Regions from separate parts of the Homo sapiens genome. Here region 1 is linked to region 2. The links are contacts of gene promoters, found by promoter capture Hi-C in human tissues and cell types (Jung and others, 2019). All regions are on one chromosome and are shown on one strand. Each heading gives the region's core, a stretch centred on a gene start or on the middle of the fragment in contact. The rest is flanking DNA. Distances are from core to core; before and after follow the strand shown.

What was found. The method cuts DNA at HindIII sites, captures the fragments that hold promoters and counts their contacts. A contact is called where the count stands out against the background at its distance.
Region 1: a fragment that was not itself captured here is called in contact with the fragment with the promoter of PRRT4 in region 2 in 5 of the 25 tissues and cell types used here (heart left ventricle, lymphoblastoid cells, mesendoderm cells and 2 more).

What each region holds. Positions count from the first base shown.
Region 1 is chr7:128,325,357-128,331,698 of GRCh38, forward strand. It overlaps RBM28 (RNA binding motif protein 28), which reads right to left. Exons shown (of 19, transcript NM_018077.3): 10 at 5,463-5,572; 11 at 462-535. Among named protein-coding and RNA genes, the nearest start is that of RBM28, 15 kb to the right of the region's middle. The HindIII fragment of the contact is 3,986 bases long and covers 1-3,810 here.
Region 2 is chr7:128,360,317-128,366,470 of GRCh38, forward strand. It overlaps PRRT4 (proline rich transmembrane protein 4), which reads right to left and starts at 1,374. Exons shown (of 6, transcript NM_001174164.2): 1 at 1,245-1,374; 2 at 990-1,106. RefSeq lists enhancers at 1-440, 441-1,309. The HindIII fragment of the contact is 21,921 bases long and covers 1-6,154 here.

The DNA.
Region 1 (6,342 bases), core at 568-3,067, 35 kb before region 2:
TAGAGTACTTACTCAAGAGGACTTAAGAAATAACAGCAATATTAGATAACATTATACTCGACTATAGAACAAATGGAGTAATTCTCCATCACCCACACACATTCTCTCTCAAACATCTACTCTACTTCACAGACGACCTTAATACCTCATCCTAGTCTTTCATGTTATCAGTCTAGGATAGAGGCTGACACAGACAGCAAGCAACAAATATCAGATACGTTATTATCCCCTTTTCCTCACCTATGAAGTAGAGATCATAATTCTGCCTACCTCAAAGGGCTGATGTAATGATTAAGATAATGCATGTAAAGTTCAGTGCCTAACACAAAGTGCTAAATAAGTGTTAGTTTTATTATTACTGACAAGAAAAATAATAATAAAGCTTTGTATAAATACCAGATGTTGCCCCTAAGAGCCAAACTGCCTCCTGTGTTATAAGGTAAAGGAAATATCTTCCTTACCTCATTCTCTGGAGAAGCAGCTAGAAGGCATTTCTGAGCTGCTTCTTGAGTCATGAACTGGGCAAATGCACAACCTGCACAAGGAGACACAATTCAGTGAGATCCCAAACTCCCACAGATAAACCAAAGACAACATTGCAAATGGCAACAGCCTGACACAGAGTGGAAGGGATAGGTGGCATCCATTTATTAAGTACAGCCATGTAGCCGGGTGCAGTGGCTCACACCTGTAATCCCGGCACTTTGGGAGGCCGATGCGGGCAGATCATGAGGTCAAGAGATCAAGACCATCCTGGCCAACACAGTGAAACCCCGTCGCTACTAAAAATACAAAAAATTAGCCAGGCGTGGTGGCGGGCACCTGTAGTCCCAGTTACTTGGGAGGCTGAGGCAGGAGAATGGCGTAAACCTGGGAGGCGGAGTTGCAGCGAGCCAAGATAGTGCCACTGCACTCCAGCCTGGGCAACAGAGCAAGACTCCGTCTCAAAAAAAAAAAAAAAAAAAAGTACAGCCATGTACTTGCATAAGGACGTTTTGGTCAGTGACAGACTGCATATACAACAGTGGTCCCAGAAGATTACAATGGATCTGCCCTATACAGTTGTACCATTTTTTATCTTTTATACTGCATTTTACTATACCTTTTCTATGTTTAGAAATACTTAGATACACATATACTTACCATTATGTTACAACTGCCTACAACATTCAGTATAACAACATGCTGTGCTGTACAGGTTTGTAGCCTAGGAGCACATATGACCTATGTGTGTAGTAGGCCATACCACCTAGGTTTGTATAAGTACACTATGACATTCACACAATGACAAAATCACCAAATAATGAACTTTGCAGAATGTATCCCCATCATTAAGTGACGCATATTGCACTATGACACAGGCACTATGTTAGGTACCAAATAATCAAGACAAAGATACCACTGCTCTTAATGAAATTTTATTATTACTTCCTTCATCTGTTCTAATTCTTCTTAGAACTTTAGTCTCATGATCTCTCTTAATAAGAAATATCCATGTGAAGGCTGGGTGTGGTGGCTTACACTTGTAATCCCAGCTCTTTAGGAGACCAAGGCAGGAAGATCGCTTAAGCCCAAGAGTTAGAGCCTAAGCAACATGACAAAACCCTGTCTCTACGAAAGAAAAAAAAAAATTGGCTGGGTGTGGTGGTGCATGCCTATAGTCCCAGCTACCGAGAAAGCTGAGGTGGGAGGATGACCTGACCTCGGGAGGTCAAGGCTGCAGTAAGCCATGATCACTGCACTACAGCCAGGGTGACAGAGCGAGACCTTGTCTCAAAAAAAAGAAAGAAAAGAAAAGAAAAGAAATATCCACATGAAATGGTAGAGAAATTCCAGCCTAACACTTAATTCAGCATCACTTATGAAGTACCTATTAGAGGACTAAAAAATAAAGCAGGAACCACTTAACCCTGAACTTAATTACAGATCTCACTGTCACACAGTCACTTGGGAGGCATCAGATATGGGCAGATCTGCTTCTCAGAGTAAAAGTCTCTGTCCTCTACTATATGAATATAGCAGGGAACCAGAAAGCCAGGAGCTCAATTCTTGGCTCATACTCTAGAATCTCCATAAGGCATGCCTTTCCTTGATTAGATGCAGGACCAATTAACCCATCTCTATTTCTGCTATTGACAAAAAAACAATTTTTTTTTTTTTTGAGACGGAGTTTCGCTCTTGTTGCCCAGGCTGGAGTCTAATGGCTCAATCTTGGCTCACTGCAACCTCCGCCTCCTGGGTTCAAGTGACTCTTCTGCCTCAGCCTCCCAAGTAGCTGAGATTACAGGCAGGTGCCTCCATGCCCAGCTAATTTTGTATTTTTAGTAGAGACAGGGTTTCTCCATGTTGGTCAAGCTGGTCTCGAACTCCCAACCTCAGGTGATCCGCCTGCCTTGGCCTCCCAAAGTGCTGGGATTACAGGTGTGAGCCACTGCACCCGGTCAATAAAAAACAACTTTTATAAGCAAAGAAAGTAAGTTTACCTTTCAGTAGATTCCAAAAAAGAAATACAAGTTTCATAATTTTGTTTAGTATTCCTTTAAATTTTAAATATTCTCTCAGATGCTGCCATATTTCCTAGAGCTAGTGGGGGCATTGATCTTCTGCCTCCTATAAAAATGAATGGCACAGACTAACTGAAAGGACACATGCGCCAGGCCAACACAAAGGTCACCATCTAGAAGCTTCTGTGTCCCCTCCTGCCTCCTATCTTCCACTCACATCTTTATTATAGCACTACTCAGGTGACATCTTCCCAAACAGAATGAATACCTCAGGAAAAATGACCACAATTCTTATCTGTTTCTATATCCCTAGCACCTACTATAGTGTACAGCATTAACAGATACTCAATAGAAAGAAACAAATAAGGAAATATGGGGAAAATGTTTCTAATAGGCAGATTCAAATGAATCTAATTAGATTGAATATGAAGAAAATGGGTGCTTCTCTCTGAATGGGTAAGAATTTTATCATTGGAGTTTCCAGAGTCAGTACTGGGTTCAGTCTTAACATTTCCCTAAAAGACTGCAGTTAATACTTAGCTCTTCCAGGTAGTGAAATGGCATGCTGAGAGGGATAAACTACAGGAGCAGCACGAGGCTGCATGAGTAGGCAAAAAAGGTATCAGAAAAATTTAATGAGCTAGGGAAGGACAATACATTTTTTTTAAATGATTAAAACTATGCTTATTAAGATCATGAACTCTGTTAACATTAATAGACCGCAAGGGATATCTAGTCAGTCAATTGTAGGCTTCATTCTAAAAGTATTAACCCAATATACTACTGCACTAAAAAAGAGACAAAAGATACTACCACCAAAGTAAAGCAATATCATACCACTAACTTGGAACATTCTATGCAATTCAAATTGTCTAAAAACATTTTAGAAATGGAAAAGATCCAAGTAGTATAACTAAACATGAGAGCTGCAGGTACCTTAAGTGATTACTCAAACCCACTCATTTTACAGATGAAAACCTGAAGCCAACGGTAGTTAAATGATTTGCCAAAAATCACCCAGTCTATCTGTAGCATAGCTGGGATTAGATCTCTAACTCTGTTCCACAGTGCTGCCTTATTCACATCTTTTTTTTTTTTTTTTTAAAGAGATGGAGGCGGTCTTGTTCTGTCTCACAGTCTCGAGTGCAGTGGCAATCATAGCTCACTGAAGCCTCTAACTCCTGGGCTCCCCGCAGCCTCCTGAGTAGCTGGGATTTCAGGCACACACCAGGTCTTAAACTTTTTTTTTTCTTTTTGAGACGGAGTCTTGCTCTTGTTGCCCAGGCTAGAGTGCAGTGGCACGATCTCGGCTCACCACAACCTCCCCCTCCCAGGTTCAAGCAATTCTCCTGCCTCAGCCTCCCGAGTAGCTGGGATTACAGGCATGCGCCACCACGCCCGGCTAATTTTGTATTTTTAGTAGAGATGGGGTTTCTCCATATTGGTCAGGCTGCTCTTGAACTCCCGACCTCAGGTGATCCGCCTGCCTCAGCCTCCCAAAGTGCTGGGATTACAGGCGTGAGCCACCGCTCCCGGCCAGGTCTTACTTTTTTTTAGCTGAGTAAAAATCAAAAGTGATTAGGTTCTATCAATGTGAAAGATAAAAAGGCTTAGAATGGAGGTAGGTTCTTAAGCTGTGGATAGGCTCAAGAGAGCCCACACAGCCTCCGAAGCAGCATTTTTCTAAGGAGAGGATTCACAGCTTTTGCTAGATCTCAAACGAATCATGAATCACAATAAATTAAGAACTTAACGCCGGGCGCGCCTGTAATCCCAGCACTTTGGGAGGCCAAGGCGGGTGTATCACAAGGTCAGGAGTTGGAGACCATCCTGGCTAACACGGTGAAGCCCCAACTCTACTAAAAATACAAACACAAAATTAGCCGGGTGCAGTGGTGGGCACCTGTAGTCCCAGCTACTCAGGAGGCTGAGGCAGGAGAATGGCGTGAACCCAGGAGGCGGAGCTTGCAGTGAGCCGAGATGGCGCCACTGCACTCCAGCCTGGGCAACAGAGTGAGACTCCGTCTCAAAAAAAAAAAAAAAAAAAAAAAAAAAGAACTTAGTGCTTTAGGAGAATGACTGCAATAGGTGAAATCAAAGATTATGAATGGGTTGGAAAGATGTTTACCTAACAACAGTATACTAGAACGAAGAATGGTCAATGCTTAAAACTCAAAAGAAATAGCTTTTGGAAAAAAAAAGAAATCTAAGGCAGCACTCCTGCAACATAGAGTTTTCCTTCTAACGGCTGACACTGCAACAGAGTTTTTCTGTCAGCTTCTACCTCTAACAAAAGCAACAGGAAAAAAAAAGATCCTGGTAATTTCAAGCAATGTGGAATGATTAGTACCTATGAGATACTATCACATTTGAAATGCAAAGAGCAAAAATGGAATTCATTACCCTAAAGTAAATAAGCAAGGGATTAAAAAGCTTAGACAAAATTATGGCTAGCAGCACCATTAAAGATGCTGAGTGTGACACCATTAAAGACCAGGATGTCCCTGGTCCTTTTTTTTTTTTTTTTTTTTTTTCGTGGAAACAAGAGTCTTGCTCTGTGGCTCAGGCTGGAGTGCAGTGGCATGATCTCGGCTCATTGCAACCTCCACCTCCCGGGTTCAAGCAATTTTCCTGTCTCAGCCTCCCAGGTAGCTGGGACTACAGGTGCACGCTGCTAATTTTTTGTATTTTAGTAGAGACGGGGTTTCACCGTGTTGCCCAGGCTGGTCTCAAACTCCTGAGCTCAGGCAATCTGCCTGCCTCAGCCTCCCAAAGTGCTGGGATTACAGGCGTGAGCCAGCGTGCCCGGCGTCCCTGGTACTTTTATAGAACCCAGAAACCTGGGCTGGATGGACTGTGAACCCCTCAAAATGGCACACATTATGCTCTCGTAACCTAGTCAGTGCCCACGGCAGTGGTCTCAACCCTTTTAGGGCCTGGCCAGCTGACAACACATACCTTTAGAATGCTCTGTGTCTGGATGCAAGACAATGCGGACATATTTGAGTTCTCCAAACTGTTGGAGAAGCTCCCCAAGTTCTTCTTCTTCTGAGTCAAAGGACAGATTTCTATGGAAGATAACCAGATGATCACAAGAAAAGTCAATTACATAAGTGAGATCCTATGTTCCAGGACAATGTAAGTGAGTTAGATATCAACTCTCCCTTGTTCAGAAATAGCACTAATACATAGGGATGGCCCCCAGTGACCCTTGGCCCCAACTGACTTTCCTTTGTCAATGAGGTTCTCTTTCTCAGGAATCTGAAAACGTAAACAGACACATACAAAGACCAGAAACTGCAGGTAAAGATTCATTTCTAAACAGCGGTGCCCCCCACTAGGGAAACTTCTGGGGTGCTGGAAATTTCTACATCTTGATCTGGGTGGTGGCTACATGGATGTATACATATAAAATTTTAACTGAGCTATATGCTTAGATTAATGTACTTTACAGAATCTATGTTATACCTTAAAAAAAAAAAAAAAAGTGGTGTCCCCAGAGAAAAGACCCACAGCCTCCATCACCTAGGGCCCCAGAACTGCCCAGATTTTCACCCTCTTCCTGAGGCTTGCTCTTTGACAACTTTGATTCTGAAACCCTCTTTTTCCACTTAAATTGACCAAAATTCATTTCTCTTACTACAAACTAGAAGACTCACAGCAGACTAGTGAGAAAAGTCAAATTATCTCTCTTAATTAGCCATTTTTTCCTCTGTGTTGCTATTAAATCCAGGTTTCAATTAAAATCTTACTAAAGTCAGAAAAATCCCTCAAAATAGTAACACAAAAGCAAATACAGTAAAATTTACTAAGTTCAAAAAAAGACAACTACTTACTT
Region 2 (6,154 bases), core at 124-2,623:
GGGCCCTCATCCTTAACTAGTAGCAAAAGGGATGGACTTGGGCTTCCAGACATGGATTCCTCTCTTCCTTCCCTCTGCTGAGCCTCAAGTCTTTACGCAGGCTTACCGTTTGCCAAGCACCCTTCTGGGCATATAACTGTGAACAAGCAAGCCCTTCCGATGTCTTGACCTATTCCAACCCCCACCTCCCGCCCCAGCCAGAAGTGCTGGCGCCCTCACTCTCAGACCCCAGGGGGCACAGGGCCTCGGGAGGGGTAAAGCCAGAGCTGAGTGATCTGGCCCAGTCAGAAGGCCGCCCAGGCTCTGGCCAGAGAAGCAAGGTTCCCAATCTGGCAGAAGCACCCTCCCTCCCGCCCCTCCCGTTTCCTGGGGCTGGGCCTGTTCCCTTCCCTAGGACCCTTGAAGTATTCGGGGGAGGGGCAGCTTGGCGATCTCCGGCTTCCTGGAGGAGAACGCCAGGCAGGCAAGCTGGGCGAACTGCAGGCAGCTGCGGCGGACTCCTACCCCCTCCCCAGAACTCTCTCCTCTGTGCGCACACATCTGGTGGGGGAAGGGAGGGTGAGCCAGGGACACACATGCACCCGGCACCCTTACATCACACACATAGCCACATCTAGCGCCCGTGACACACTCACCCGTCACATACCCCCCTGCCCCTGCACGCGCGCGCGCACACACACACACACACTCCGTCCTGCCGAGCCACTCTCCTCCCTGCATGGGTTCAAACCCAAGCTCTGTGAGCCCCCGGCCTCCCCTGTCTCTCTCTCTCTCTCTCTCTCTCTCTCACACACACACACACACACACACACACACACACACACGGCATGTACTGTACAGAGATGCACACCCCCTACACACATTCACACACACAGACATGCCACACACCGCCATCCCCCCACACTCGTACACGCCCACCACCCCTCGCAGGCACACATGCACACACGCGCGCGCACACGCACACACACCCCCAGCCCGGACCGGCCGACCTGCTCCCCGGGGTCTCTCCCGCAGGCAGGTCTCCTCGCCGAGCCTCCGAAAAGGGGCGGTCGTGGCGGCCCTGGCGCCCAGCTGGGCAACGCTTCGTGGTATCTCACCGCTTCTCTCTGTTGTGCCCAGCGCCCCGACTGAAGATCCGGACCTCCAGCCCCCGGCGGCCCCTCGCCTAGTCCAGAGACCGCAGCCTCGCCGCCCCGCTGCCCCTGAGCCGCCCCCGGCCCAGCCCCGGCCCGCAGCGCTCTCACCAGGCGGGCGGCCAGGCCCCGCGCTCCGCACTCCGCACTCCGCGCTCCCTCCCAGCGGCGCCGCCTCCTGGCTCCGAGCCTCGCTCCCCGGCGAAGCCGCCCGCGCCGGGGCTCCGCGGCAGCCGGCTCTGACGGCCCTCCCGTCCGCCCGCCCTCGCTCCCGCGCCCTCTCTCCTCCTCCTCCTCCTCCTCCTCCCACCCAGCCCGCCACCCGCGGTCCCCCCACACCCGGGCGGGCAGGCAGGCGCTCACAGCAGCGCGGAGCCGCGGCCACCTCGGTGCCGGGCGCCTCCACGCGCGCTCATTCACCCAGCGCTGTCAATCAGCCGCGGCGGGCGCCTCGCTGTGAGCCTGGCGAGAGCAATCACACACTCCCAGGGCGGCCCAGCACACACATCCACACGCGCGCCAGGAAACACACTCGCAGGTCAGAGGGCGCGCGCACACACGCGCACACATGGCAGCCTGCCCCAGGATGGCACCCCGGGCAATAAGAGTCCCACCGTTTGCTAAGTAGAAGTACAATGGACAATTCTACTTCCTTTATCTCATGAGTCCTCACCGCAACCCTGTGTATGTCGCCACTTTGCAGACAATTAAATGAAGACACAGAAAATTACCGAATTTGCCCAAGATTGCACAGCTTGGTAGAAACTCGAACCGTCTCCCTGCCGGCCCTCTCCACCACCTGGTGGTTTTCAACAGTTGCACTGCTACACAGCAGTGCCTCCAACACTTCACCGGTGAACTGCCAAATGCCAATCCCTGTGTGACATGTCTTTTCGCTAAAACTGATCTCTCAAAAATACTGTTTCAGAAATGTCTGCCAGAAAGAATGGTGAGCTAAGCTGCTTGTGAGAAGTGGATTACAACTGGTTTCTAGTAAGAGGTGTGAGGAGAACAGTAAAATCAAAGGCTGGGTTCAGTGGTTCACGCCTGTAATTCTAACACTTTGGGAGGCTGAGGCAGGCTGATCGCTTGAGCCCCGGGGTTCAAGAACAGCCTGGGCAACATAGCAAAAGATAAAATAAAAACAAACAAACAGCAAGCAAGCAAGCAAGCAAGCAAGAAAAAAAGAAGAAAGAAAGAAATTATCTGGGCGTGATGGGGTATGGTGGCAGACACCTGTAGTCCCAGCTATTTGGGAGGCTGAGACTGGAGGATTGCTTGAGCCTGGGAGGTGGAGGTTGCCGTGAGCTGTGATCATACCGCTACACTCCAGCCTGGGCAACAGAGCAAGACCCTGTCTCAAAAGGAAAAACAAAGAAAAAAGAGCGTGCCCCTTCACAGAAAGTAAGAGAGCTCAGGCAAAAGCTGACACAGGTTGAAGATGACCAAGAAAACCGAGCAGTCACTATGTATACTTCATGGAACCTGTTAAGTTGTAGTAGTGACTAACTGAAGTACTACTGACTCATTCATGTGGTTTTGAGTCTCTAAATCCCTTCATGTTTTCTTCAAACAATGATAGTAATTTAAAAGTATCAGAACATGAAACACTTCTGTCTCCCTGCACCATTTAAAACTTTCCCTCAAAATCTAAACATCCAACTGTGTGCCAAGAATGATGGTGGATGCTTTATAAGAGTCTCCTTACTTATTCGTCACCACGAGCCACAGAGACAGAAAAATTATTGTCACCATGTTATAGCCTTTTATATGACCCTGAATTCCCTTTCCATCTATATCCCTTCTCTTCTTCTCTTGAAGGTTGTGGCAGTTGCAGGGTGTGGGGCGGCGGGGGGCGGGTGCTGGTGTTGCTTAAAGAGTTACCTAGGGCAGATTCTGTCTCAGTAATTGAGAGCTAGCTTAGCACTTTGTGGATATGGTCCATGCCTATTTGATAAGTGAATAATGATGAATGGTTCTGGGGTCCATATGGGCAATGGGTTGCTTTTCAGAAAGGCATCTTCCTTATCACAGAGCCCCGCCAATTCATGTAAAATCAAATCAGGCCACCAACTGAACTACTCTCAGGGCCATCAACGATAAAGTCTGGGATTTATTCCAGGTCCCTTAACAAAGCATTGCAAAGGACATCTCCAGATGCACCCCCAGGGGTTATCATAACCTGCCCCCACCCCCAAGTCCATTAGGGGCTGCCCGGAGGCTGCAAACTGGGATTCAGCCTCTAATTTTCTCTCATATGCTTAATAAAAGTTATCCTACTGGAGACATTTTCTTTGAATCCTCCTCATAGAAAAGCCCATTTCCTGCTAATCATGTTCACTTAAAGACTTCTAAGTGGAAAGACAGAAATAAACATATCCCAGTACATTAAGATAGCAATCCTCCATGACCCAGTGGGCTTATTCCCAGGAATAATTTTTAAAATATATTGAAAAAGGAAGTAAGGGTTCTGGGTTAAGATGGTAATTGAATGTATATTCAATTACCTCCCAAAACCCCACTAAAACTCCAGTAAAGAGATTTTCAAATCAAGAGATAAACCTACAAGGATGCAAAGACCAGGAAAGGAGACAATAGCAATAGTATTTTTGAGACAGGATGGCAGGCAGTCATGGGGTTACTGACTTACCAGCCCCGAGGAAAAAAACATCCCAAACTGGCAGTGGGGAAAACCAAGAGCCAACTTGATTTACATTGCAAGGCTCTCAGAAGGCACAGAAACTGGCATTCCAAGGTATCTCCAGAACTACGGGAAAGGTTGCTAAAGTAGGGACTGAGCTGAAATACAGTTAGGTCCCTAGACCTCTTCCCTAACTCCAAACCACTGGGCAACAGTCTTTCTCATATCGCAAGAGTCTGGAGGATTTTCCTCTGAGGAAGGTAAGATTGAAGGTATCTGGACTGGGGAAACTTCCGGCACAGTTGTGAACAGATAAGCCAGACTGAAAATGCTGAAAATGAGGGGATTAAGTGACCAAGTCATATTGAATGCTGAATACAGAAACCCTGAGCCTTCTCCCAGAACTGGTTCCCAAAGTCGTAGGAGCAGGACATTTGCTTCCAGGCTGGAGACTAGAAGATTCTATACTGGGGCATTTTACCAGCCTAAGAGGAAAGATCTAAAGATTCTGACATGGGGGTTCTCCAAAAACAACCTAGTTAGATCACCCTACTGTAGCAAACCCAACATGTGAGCTTGGAGTTTCCCACCAACCTCCTACCCCCATCCCTCAACCTTAATCATGACCAAAGATTACCAGACATGCAGGACATTTTCTAACACAGAAGTGAGAGACAAAACAATCAGAAAAAGTAACTTAGAGAAACAAGTTATACAAAGAGAAGAGGGCACCAATAAGATCATTGTTAATATCCTCAGAGATGTGAGAAGATACTGTATCTATGAAACAAGGATAAGATGCTATAGAAAGGAACGTTCAGAGAACAGTAACAGTCTTGGAAAATAAAATAATGACAGCATAAGCCAGGCACAGTGGCCCCATGCCTGTAATCCCAGCTACTCAGGAGGCTGAGACAGCAAGACGTCTTAAGCCCAGGAGTTCAAGACCAGCCTGGACAACATAGCAAGACCATCTCAAAAAAAAAAAAAAAAAAAAAAAAAAAAAAAGATCATGACAGCAGAAATAAAAACCCTCAATAGAAAGATTAGAAGATAAAGTTGATTAAATCTCCCGAGGAAGTAAAGTAAACATACTAAAAGATAGAAAATATAGGAGAGAAAAGATAAGAGCATTAAAAGATAATTCCAGGAATTCAGCATCAACATAAATGTTCTAAAAAGAAAAAAAGGGCTAGGTGCAGTGGCTCATGTCTGTAATCCCAGAATTTTGGGGGACCGAGGCGGGAGGATCACTTGAGCCTGGGAGTTCAAAACCAGCCTGGGCAACATAGTGAGACCTGGTCTTTCTAAGAAATTTTTAAAAATTTGCCGGGCCTCGTGGCACATGCCTGTAATCCCAGCTACTTGGAAGACTGAGGTGAGGATTAATTGAGTCTGGGAGGTGAAGGTTGTAGTGACCCATGATCACACCACTCCACTCTAGCCTAGGGGACAAAGGGAGACCCTGCCAAAAAAAGAAAGAAAGAGGGAAGGAAGGAAGGAAGGAAGGAAGGAAGGAAGGAAGGAAGGAAGGAAGGAAAAAAAGAAACAAAGAAACAAAGGAAAGAAAGAAAGAGTCCTGCATCAAGTTGATCATTGACACTTCGAATGCATTTGTGGCTCTGGGTTCCTCCCAGGGCTATTAAAAAAATGAAAAATGATGAAAGAAAACAAACTGAAAAAAATAAAGAACCAGAGGAAAATGGAAGAGAGAAAATAATCAATTATCGAATATGAAGAAATTTTCTAGAACAGAAGGACACAAGTTGCTAGACCATAAAATGGTCCACCAAGTCCCCAACACTGTAGATTAAAATAAACCCACACCAAGACAAATTAAAGAGAAGAGTCTAGAAATTTCCAGATAGAAAGACAAAAACATAACATACAAAGACTCAATTATCATAAATGTTTTGAATTTCTCAACAGCAACACTGGAAGTAAAAAGCAATACCTTCAAAATTTTGAAGAAAATGCTTTCAACTGAGAATTTATACCCATTCAAACTATTAATCAAGTAAGAAGTTAGAATACAGGTATTTACATTCTCAGATGTATGAAATTTCAAAAGGTTTGCCTCCCATGCACAGTACCTGAAAAAGCTACCGGAGAAAGTGCTCCACCAAAACCAGAGAGTCAAACAGGAAAGTAGAAAGCACAGGGTGCAAGAAATAGAGACCCGCCACAGGGTAGAAACAAAGGGAGGCCCTGGGAAGACACTGGAGGGGGATCCCAAGATAGCAGCTGTGCACCACATGCAAAGGGATCCCAGTTCAGATTGGAACAGTGTTACTAACTCAGGAGACAGGCACACTGGCAGCTATCACCACCAAGACCACTGCTGTCAGTGTACCATTTTTGGAACCTGACTCAGATCAGA